Linked DNA regions of Homo sapiens: all the other regions are linked to region 1. Evidence: promoter capture Hi-C in 16 types of primary human blood cells and fetal thymus (Javierre and others, 2016). All regions are on one chromosome and are shown on one strand. Each heading gives the region's core, a stretch centred on a gene start or on the middle of the fragment in contact. The rest is flanking DNA. Distances are from core to core; before and after follow the strand shown. Region 1 holds the start of USP25 (ubiquitin specific peptidase 25). Region 2 has its middle 92 kb from the start of SAMSN1-AS1. Region 3 has its middle 120 kb from the start of SAMSN1-AS1.

The links. Contacts are between HindIII fragments. The CHiCAGO score rates a contact against its expected background, and 5 or more counts as called.
Region 2: a fragment that was not itself captured here is called in contact with the fragment with the promoter of USP25 in region 1 in 4 of 17 cell types (non-activated CD4 T cells, naive CD8 T cells, total CD8 T cells and 1 more); the score reaches 11.1 in non-activated CD4 T cells.
Region 3: a fragment that was not itself captured here is called in contact with the fragment with the promoter of USP25 in region 1 in 1 of 17 cell types (neutrophils); the score reaches 6.2 in neutrophils.

Annotation. Positions count from the first base shown.
Region 1 is chr21:15,728,235-15,731,817 of GRCh38, forward strand. It overlaps USP25 (ubiquitin specific peptidase 25), which reads left to right and starts at 1,748. Exons shown (of 26, transcript NM_001283041.3): 1 at 1,748-2,204. The coding sequence starts at 2,160. RefSeq lists a silencer at 1,353-2,312. The HindIII fragment of the contact is 4,884 bases long and covers 756-3,583 here.
Region 2 is chr21:14,672,038-14,675,620 of GRCh38, forward strand. No RefSeq gene overlaps it. Among named protein-coding and RNA genes, the nearest start is that of SAMSN1-AS1, 92 kb to the left of the region's middle. The HindIII fragment of the contact is 723 bases long and covers 1,375-2,097 here.
Region 3 is chr21:14,698,764-14,702,346 of GRCh38, forward strand. No RefSeq gene overlaps it. Among named protein-coding and RNA genes, the nearest start is that of SAMSN1-AS1, 120 kb to the left of the region's middle. The HindIII fragment of the contact is 4,970 bases long and covers 1-3,583 here.

The sequences.
Region 1 (3,583 bases), core at 498-2,997:
ATGCTGAGTAAGTAGGAAACCCTCAGAAGTAAGCTGAAAATGAACAGTCTCAGTGGGCAAATAGGTCTACCATATAAAAGCTCTATTTGATGATTATCTATTGTAAGATCATCTTTTTTTTTCTGTATGGAAGTAACAAATTTAACTCAGAGAAAAGTTGTATTGCCAAATTCTTGAAATTAAACCTTAGTATCTGGCAACATTTTTCCTCCCATGGTACTAGATTACTAGATTTTTATGTTAAATTTAATTTTCTTGAATTCAAATGTATGAGCTTGATTTCTAAAAAACAAACAAACAAACCAAAAAACCAAAACCCTCATATGGAGAAACATGAAGTTAGCATATAAACAAGAAAAGAAGAAACTTTGATCTATAAATGAAGAAAAATGGGTTTTGATAAGCTCTCTTTGACAGGTCACCCTCCTTGGGCTTCAGAGTTATAAAAAAATCGATACGTGAGATTAGAGATGTGACAGTATTTCTAAATTTCTGTTTCCAACCGTTTCATGACTTTTCATTTCCTCTAGAAAAGACATAGGATATTAATATAATAAGATTTGCAATTTGTTAAATATCAAATGAGTCAACAAATATGAAGCTTCAAGGAAAAGGTGACAACAGGTGGTACCAGACATCTGAGCTGCAGAACAAAGATGGTTGTAAAGTGCACAGAACTGTTACAAAGCCTTAAGAGCTACTATAATCCATGATTATTAAATAACACCACATACTATTTCAATTAGCATTTGCCAAGCTTGCTTTCCTTGTCATTGGATTAAAAATTATACCCGGATTTTCAAGTGTATTCTATTTGTGACAATATGCATTGATAATTTCTCTCCTCACACTGCTGCACTCTCACCTCCGTTCCCAGATTAGCTCCTGGAACTCGAGATATTTTTGTGGCTAGAGATTGCTTTCTTAATGTTAGATTTTCCTTACAATTCCATATATAGTCAAGCATTCCATGCATGGTAGTTAATTGTTTGCTTAATTTGGCAACTGGGATATTAGAATTATGTATCATTAGGCAGTGATATTTTTGTAAGGTTGTTTGCTAGATAGATCCTATTTCATTTATATTAAGTCTTGGGAAGATAAACTTTATTTTTCCAGAGCCTAGCAGTGACTGACACATATTCGAATGAATGAAGGTAGATAGAAAATGTCTATATTCATTTACGTAATGATTAGTTAAGGAGAAAAGTACTTCCCAGCATAAAGATTTCTGGCAACCCTTTGCTTATTTGACTTTTCCCTTCAGGCAAGTTCAAGGCTTGTGAAATTCCTAGAAAGGCGAGGGGAGAGAACGCGTGACACAGAAAGGGGCCGGAGTTCGGGACCCTACGCAGTTTTGGGACGTTATGGGCATGGAGGGAAATGTTTGCTTTGGAGGCTTTGGGTAAGCTAGGGATCCGACAAGCCCTGGGCGCAGGGAGGAACGCTGCCCTCCGGCCTCCAGTCGCGCTCCCCGAAGCCCAGCGCCAGCGTCGCGCAACCTGCCGCAGGGGCGGCTCCCGGGCCAGGCAGCCAGGCGCGCCCTCGCCCCACCCGGGAACGCCAGGCCCGCGCAGGGAGGGGCGGGGCTCCATGGCGGCCCCGCCCCGCCGCCCGGAGGGTCACAATGTAGGGTTAGGGCGGCCGGCGGGCGGGGCTCTGCGGGGGAGGAGCCGCCGGGCGGGGGCGGGGATGGCGCGTGGGGGAGGGGAGGGAGGAGGACTCGCGGAGGGAGGAGGACAACGCCATTCCGGGCGGCCGCTCCCTCCGTCCCCTCTCTCCCTTCCCCAAAGCAGCCCGCGGACCGGCAGCAAAGGAACGTGCGAACGCGTGACGCCGCCCGACTGGCTCGCGCTCTCCCGTGCCCCGGCGTCCTCCGCCCGCTCATGGCCCGGGCCGCCGCGGACGAGCGGCGCTGAGGCGGGCCGCGTGGAGACGTGAGGCGGCCGCCGTGGCCCTCACAGTCGGCGTTTCGCCGCCTGCCCGCGGTGCCCGCGCACGCCGGCCGCCATCGCCTTCGCGCCTGGCTGGCGGGGGCGCTGTCCTCCCAGGCCGTCCGCGCCGCTCCCTGGAGCTCGGCGGAGCGCGGCAGCCAGGGCCGGCGGAGGCGCGAGGAGCCGGGCGCCACCGCCGCCGCCGCCGCCGCCGCCGCGGGGGCCATGACCGTGGAGCAGAACGTGCTGCAGCAGAGCGCGGCGCAGAAGGTGAGGCGAGTCCGCCAGCCGGCGGGCCCCACTTCTCCTTCCGACGGGCTGTCCTCTCCCGCTGCGGCCGGGCGCCCCGGCCTCGCCGCCGCCGCCTTCCCGGGCTTCCTCCCCGGTCACCCCCGGCCCCTGCCCATCGCCTCGGGGGCGTCGCGCCCAGAGCCCAGCTGCGTGTGGGAAGCAGAGTGTAGTTTGCGGGCTTCAATCCACTTCCTTCTGCCGATTGTTTTCCCGTAGCAGACGGTGCCAGGTATTGAGAGCGACCCTCACATTCCTACAGTGCTCTGTGTGGCATCTTAATGAAACTTTATTCTCTCCCCTTAAATGAGAAAGAATAGCTAGTTGTCATCCTTTCTGAACCGATTTTGTCTTTCAAAGGTAGTAGTGTACCAGGCCTGCTATTTTGCAAAACGGTCTCCACCAAAATCGAATTACCTGCCTCGCGGGGCAGGCGTGTTGACCAGGTGGACTCTAGAAGTAGGTGGTTTGCTTGGTTTCTTTTCCTTTTAAGGTTTCCCTTTCTTCTTCTTCTTTTCTGTTTTTTTTTTTTTTTTTTTTTTTTTCAATATAGAAACTGTCCCTAAGAGAGGAAACCTTTCTGGCCATGTTATTCCAGGAATCTTTTGTCCCCTAAGTTTGACCTTGTTCTTTCGTTCACCCTTTACTCTTGCATCAGTCACACATTCAAATGGTCACTCACTAAAGAAAACAATTAAAAAACTGTTTGTGAAACTTTATATCTTTAAAGTGAATAGAGATCATTCTGCTATTTTAGATTTTGCTTTCAGAATCTTAAGTGCACTATCATGGCTTGCACCATGTTCTGAAGAGTAGTTGGCCATGATTTAACTTCTTTTTTTAATTTTTAATTTGCGTGAAAAGCATTTTGGGCAAAAGAGTAAACCGTGCCTTAGTTGTGTTGGTATTACGGGGACAGTTAGGGTTTACTGTGATCAACCACCAGAGTTATGTTTGGTTTATCTGGGTGAGTAATGAATGCCCCACCCTGTTGTAGATTTGGTGTAGATTGCAATATTCTACCTGTGCTTGACTTTAGAATAAGACCTGTTCTAAAATGGGCTGTCTACATACAGCCTGCTAAATTTTTGCTTTGAGATTATTTTTAGAATTTTATGATACTGCTTTAAAGTAATCGAAGATACTCAAGTTTGGAAAGCAAGGATAGTGCATTGTTATTTTAGGCACGTTGGGAAAGTTGTTTTTGAGACTTGTATGTTAGTTGATATTATTGGTAAAGTTAGAAGGATATTGCACACTGCACTTTATTTACAGTGAAATAATTCAAGATTTAATAATGAGAATTTAAAAGAGTTTCCTTCCTAATCCTCCCTATTCTATTTTGAATACCTTCAAGTTCA
Region 2 (3,583 bases), core at 486-2,985, 1.1 Mb before region 1:
TAAATACATGTTACAAAAATCTTTTCCCAGCCTGTGGCTAACTTCTCATCCTCTTAATTTTATCACTTTATAAACAGAAGTTCTCAACTTCAATGTAATCCAATTTGTTAATCTTTTTTTTTTTTTTTTGCATTTTTTGTGTCTTATTAAGAAATCTTTACTCATTTCGAAGTCGTGAAGATATTCTCCATGCTTTATTCTAGAAGTTTTATTGATTTAGCTTTTACACTTTAGGTCTGTGATCCATCTCAAATTCAGTTCTGTGTTTGATGTGAGGTAGGAGTTGAGGTTCTTTTTTGTTTTTCATTGATATATCCAATTAACCCAGCACAATTTTTTAAGAAGACCACTGATTCCTATAGAAATTCATGACACACTTATCATATCAAGGCACTATTTTAGCGTGGATATATTTTTGGAATAGCCATAATTCCACTTGTCTTTGTGCAAATATTATACTTTCTTAATTACTACAGCTTTAGAGTAAGTCCTCCTATCTGGTACAGCTCTGCTGTTTTTCCTTAATAATATCTTGGCTATCTTAGGTTCTTAAGTATATATTTTTAAAGCATTAGATTAAAAATCTAAAGAAAAGTTTGAGTTTCATTTAGCCACTGACTACACATTACCTCATGAAAGAATTTAACTTCCCTTTCTGTTTCCTCACTTGTAAAATGTGCAGTGCTTGAATTAGACAATCCCAAAGACTTTTGCATTTGTGATTTTCTGGCCCAATTCACACAGAAAGGGACAGCAACTAATATTCATAAATAAACCACAGGAAACCTCCATTGAACGGATGATGGCCTAAATGCAGTCAATTTTTTTCTTCACAAATGTTATTTCACATTTAAAATAATGCATTTTGAAACTGGGGTTAGAGACTACTTGTTTAATATAATATCAACAGATTTACAAATTCATTGTATTTCTAATTGCCTCTTTAAAATGTGACAAAACACATTGCTTTTATTGTAAAATTTTGATAATATTCAAAACATTGGCTCACATATATTTCTCTATTCCTAGGACAAAAATGAAAGTCTGCAATAATCAGCACCACTCTACCTCTCCAAATAGGATCTTTAACCCAAACCCATCCTCTTCATTTTACCAGACTTATACCACAATGCCATAATTTGTTTTGCTCTCAAAATTTTCCTAATTCCTCATGCCTAAAATATTCTCCTGCTTTATTTTCACCAATTCACACCTAATAGTTTCTTTACAAATCATATCTGCCTGTCTTTCTTGAGTCACTTTTTTCTACTCACTTTTGTACTTTGTACTCATCCACCTGCACTGCATTACATAGTCTATCTCTATACACAAATTTATTAAACATTTTATTCTCATCTCCCTACTTAGATTCTAAGCTTCTATTTTGAATGGTCAGATGTGGAGTACTGAGTTTAGTATTATGCAACTATAGCTAGATCTTTGGGAAGAACACTTAGGTTGTGAGTACCTCCTCTGTGCCAGTCATGTGTTCTCTCATTTCACGATAGCCCTGTGAGGTATATCCGTCTCATTTTTAAAATGAGAAAATGATATTTATTAAAATTAGGTAACATCCTCAGTGTCACTTGTAGCATCTGAGCCTTTCCTGCCATCATGGAAATGGGGATGCTAACAAATTGGCTCAGAAGGCCCAGCTGACCATTGGGATGGGGAGGAGGGGGTCCTACAGGGCACAGACTAGGAACAAAGGAGCGCTTCTTATCAGAGACAAGAGGCACTGGGGCCAGAAAAGCAGACTAAGCAAGAAGTGATACAATCAGGTCAACGTCTGGGCTGAGAGATATAAGATAGATGCCAAAGCCAGAGGAGCAGAGTGTGAAACAGGGAGATAAAATGGAGCAGAGCCTGCTTTGAAATGCAGAGATGCGATTGAAAGAGGGAGGATGTACAGCAACAGAAAAGGCAGCAGGTGATTAATAGGCATTTTCTGGATGCAAAAATTAATAAATAAAAGAATAACTTATAAGGGATAAATGAGAGAGTGGCAACAAAACCATATTTAAACATTTGCAACCTGGGTAACTGGCAAATTATTAGTATGATTTAATAGAATTAGAGAATTCGGAAGAAAATGAAAGCTTGAGTAGTGCACATCGAAATGCATTTTGGATGGGACATTTAGCCATCAATGTTTAACAGGCAATTGAAAATGTATGGAGCTCAGAAGAAAAGTAGATACTGGAGTCTGCAGCTTACAAAATGCTTTACAATATTTTACCTTATTCTCTAAAATAACTAATAAAAAAACTGGGGTTGAGAAAAGTTGAGTAACCCCCACAAAGTGGCACAGTTAATGGGTGGATAACCTAGAATTTGAATTCAGGCTTCTTACCATAAAGTTGAGTGACTTCCCCAAAGTGGCACAGTTAATGGGTGGATAATCTGGAATTTGAATTCAGGCTTCTTATCATAAAGTTCAGTGGTGGATAATCTAGAATTCGAATTCAGGCTCTTACCATAAAGTTCAGTGCTCATTTTATTACATTTTACTGCCTTTCATATAAGAACGAGCAAATCATCTAAAGAAAAAGAGGGTGTCAGATACAGGATTCTATTTGGGCTGCAAATATGATAATGCCTTATGCTAACGTGCATAGCTTCGGGTGACAACAAACTGAAATTTATCAAAAACAGGTTGACCTCCCCCTTGTGAAGGATTTTTTTTATTCATTCCAAGAGTTGCTTGCTTATTGCAATTTTGCCTGCTGGTGTGGACATAGCTGAGAGCATCACCTGCCTGCCAAAAAAAGTAAATATGCTGGAAGCTGTTAAGTGGATTAAAACTTGGTACCACAAAGTAGTGCCCAATAACATAGTCAGAAATTCCACCTCAGCCAAAGATGTTCCTAAAAACTCAAAAACAAAAAGGAGAGGAAAGAACATTTTAGGAGGATTTATGAGGTAGAAGATACGAAGAAATTATACAATATACAAGCAAAGAAAACAAATTTTTGAAAATTTGCCAGATAGCTGGAAGCCAAAATTGTGAAAAGAAAAATCCCTATGAGAACTGCTAGTTTTATAAAATATTCTGGGAATTTAAGAAAAGGTAAATTAAATAAATTATGCATTAGTTATATTATAATTATGCTGCTGAGCTGGCATCCTTATTTTCTCCAAATTCTATCAATCAGTCAAAGAAAGTCACAGTGCATGGTCAGATTCAAAGTCACATTGCAATGGATGTAAACACAGACACCAAGAACAATTGCAGTCATTTTGTTGTCAGCCTGCAACTACCAGTAACCAGTGGTTTGATTTCAGGCAGTTCATTTCTCTTGGCCTCAGTTTCTTTATCTCCAAGATATGACTTAGGACTTTCTCTGTAGGATTCCTTACACTCCTCTGTTCCTAAAGCAACAACTTTCAAAACTGCCTTACAGGCAAATTAGAGGACTTTTCTGTATCTCAAAAAATACATATATATATAAACAAAGTGACATGTAGTTGCTTCAGTACGTGTAAAGTTACTTATTAAAAAGCAAAAATGCCATATAGAACATAAAAAGTGAAATAGGAAGATGAAATAAAATCAAACAACATTAAGTTACTATTGCAAGTC
Region 3 (3,583 bases), core at 679-3,178, 1.0 Mb before region 1:
TATACTGGAGCAAGCAGCTAAGCAATATTTGTTCCACATCAGTACTGCCTAATGCAGGCACAGGGAATTATGTTGGCTTTAGTTCTCAATAAATAGCCTATAGACTCAAAGGAAGAAAGAAACAACTGATTTCCAGAAGGTTAGGAACTGGGGTATCTTAAGGAACAAAATGGCATTGATCCCCCAAAAATCTCTAGGGCTCCGCGATCTGGAGCCTTGATTCTTATCACATTTCATCCCTGAGTATCTTAGTTTAAGGATCAAATTCTCAGGAGGATGCCAGGCTATGTGGCCTGCTCTGTGGTCAAGAGGGACAGGGTCTCAAGTTTTATTCTCCAAAAAAGTCACATGGAGAGGTAATTTCCCAAAAGAAGAGAAATTAAGAAGACAGTAATAAAAGCTATCCCTTATAATGGTCAAATCCCTCTCAAACATCTCTCTCCTCATAGGTGTTGAATTTTGGCTGAAATTGTTTCTTTTAGTTGTTGCTGAACAATTTAAATGTATTTTTTAAGTCATTTCTTCTTTCCTCTCCTCTGATTGCTTCCCTACAACTAACTCCCGGGGTCAAAACTTGTCAATTGTACATGTGTAATGAGTTTCTCTCACCCACCCTCTTCCTTTCTAGTCTATCGATATGTGCCCTAATCTGTTCCTACAGGATATTTTTTTCTAAATTCCTGCAATGGCCTCCTACATGTTCTCTACATTTATCGAATCTCTTATGTACTTCAAATTATTAATGTTCTTGAAGCACAGTTGCAATTCTTTTATTCTCAGTTTTTCATGAGTCAGTCATTCCCCATTCCCTATCACATAAGTGTCACATGCTTTGGTCTCACATCAAAGGCCAGTTACAACTGCCAGCAGCTCTCTATCTGGACTTACTTTCAGCTACTCACATTCATGTTAGCTTTGTTCTAATTAAACACATGGCAATGTTGCCAGGGTACTCCCTTTGATTTCTTAACTCCAAACTCTTTAAGAACAAAATGTGGGCCTGATTCACCTTTACAGTCCCCACTTCCTTCTATGGCCATTTGAGTAACTACTCTCATCCACTGAAACTGTTGCCTTCAATGCTACTGATCTGAAAAAGATCATGAGGCCAAGTTAGGGTCCAGTGGGCAGGAATGTTGTGATTGATTATTAATGTCTGTCATGGGCAGTGGGTAGAGGACAGTAGCAGTATCTGTGCCTGGAATTTTCCATCTTTCATTGTATATTTAACAAATATTTGTTGAGTGAAATTCAACAAGAATTTAGAATAAAGAGATCCTAGGAAAAGGCTCTTTGAGTCTCCTTTGGTTTGAGAAATGACACCACCTTTGTCCACAGAGCCCAGCAATTGTCAGTAAGAACTGAAGCCACCTGCATTAACATGACAAATATTTGTTCCTGGAAATTCTTGCTCAAGAATATAAGGTTATAAATCAATAAATAACTTCACTATTTGCTTTAGGAAAATTCCTGCAAACCAACTTGTCTGGGCAAATATTTGGTCTCCTATCAGGACAGTAGATTGCTCACCTGGGCAAACAAATCACTTATCCAACTTCAGTTTACTTATCAGGATTCACGTTAAGACTCTCCCGTCTTGAGTCCACCAACATGAAAATATTATGACACAAATATTTCCTAGGCATAATCAGTTCTCCATCTTAAACCACACACCCTAAGACCCACTTAAGCCCAGATTCTATCCAAACTCTATATAAATATCCTCTCCTGACATTTGCCTTCTTGAAGCATACTAAGCCTCAATAAAGTAATGTTCTCTGTTACTCTAGTAAGTAAATCAACTTAGTTTTGTTTGCCAACATATTTTGTGGGGTTTTTTTTGATATTTTACACTTGGTAGATTTAAGGAATGCCACAATGTGATCAAATTCATGAAACTGAGAAGCCTTCTGCAAACACTAAGTTGTGCCTTCCTAGCTCTTGAACAGTTTCAGTGACATTTTGAGAAAAGGTGAACTGTTGTCTGGTGCTTTGCAAAGCAACATGACATCTTTACACTTCTACAATGCAAGGAAAAGAAGATTAATTAGCCCTAGTTACTGTCTAGAGGTCAAACACACAAGACCCGTTGGTTCTAGAGTAGGAGCATGTAGAGGTTTCCAAACAATGATGTATATTAGAATTTCCAGGGGACTTGTTTAAAATGAGGATAAAGTCCCATCTTCCAGAGACTCTGATTCAGAAGTCTATGGCAGGGCTCAGGCATCTGCATACCACATAATGTTGCAAGGGGATCATGGCCCACACTCTTTGAATCTACACTGTATCTAAAGTCCAGTCACTTAAGACCATTTCTACTACTGGTCAGTTCCCTTAATGGCCATTTTATCTAATATTCAACTTGCTTTTGACTAGTTTTATGTTTATTTGACTGTCTTCTTTTTCATCTTGTCCTTTTTTCAACTTTAAGAATTTCAAAAAGAATGGAGGAAGATGGGAAGAGAGAGAGAGAAAGAGAGTTTCATCTTGCCTAATTTTATTCATCTGATATGTTTTCTGTATTTTATGAATAATGATAATATATTTCTAATTTTTACATTATTTTTTGTGTTTGCATTGAAAACTAGTTTTAACTAGGCTTTTGGGAGACACTTCCTTAAAAATAATATTTCCAGCAATATTAATTTATTGATAATACATAAAACATAAATTATAATCATTATGCAATGAGCATAATGATCCCTAAAGAAAATGTAGTCAATTTGTCAAATATTAATTTGGTTTAGGAGATGCTTTCTGTTAATGAGCTTATTATATGGATGATGTCAAAAATAGCTTCTTCTTTCCTGTAAAAAACCTTTGGATTTTCATAGTAAATGAAGACATACAGATCCCCCCACACATCTTCCTGACAAGATTTACACTGAGGGCTAGAAAGAGAGCACAAAGAGAGGATATGGTGAGAAGGAATTGTAGGTTATTGGAGAGCAAATTTTCCTTCTTGACAGCTTGCCTAGGACTTGCACTGTGACCCTGTTTGTACTAAGCTCTTAAGCAGTTCTTCTGAACAATTGATAATGAAGGGTGAAATAACTCCAGGAATATTGCAAGTAATGTCTTTTATACATACGTATACATATATATGTGTGTGTGTGTGTGTGTGTGTGTGTCTAAAGTAACTGTTAACAACTTTTTTCTAGCAAAAGCCAATGCCTTATGTTGTTCATCTTGACAAATTCAAAAAAAAGACAATATTTACATATCAAAGATAGTACCTTACTTGCAAAGAGGCCTGTTTCTCCAGATACCTTTTTTAACCCCTTTGGATGAGATTTTTATTGTCAAGTTTATTGGACACCAGCTTTTCTACAAGCACGTTGTATTTTATTCATTCAGCAGGAATTGTACCAATTAAACTTGCCTTACAACTTTTTGCATTATGGTTGGACTTGGTGATTGGCATTAAAAATATATACTTCACAGCTTTTATTATACATAAGCTAGATAAATTGTTAATGCTTTAGAACTCTCTAGGCAATATGAATGATGGAGATTTCTGTGCTATCCTTGATAAAGTTGAGGATACAGAAAGCAGTTTTAATCCTCTTTTTATACTCTGCCT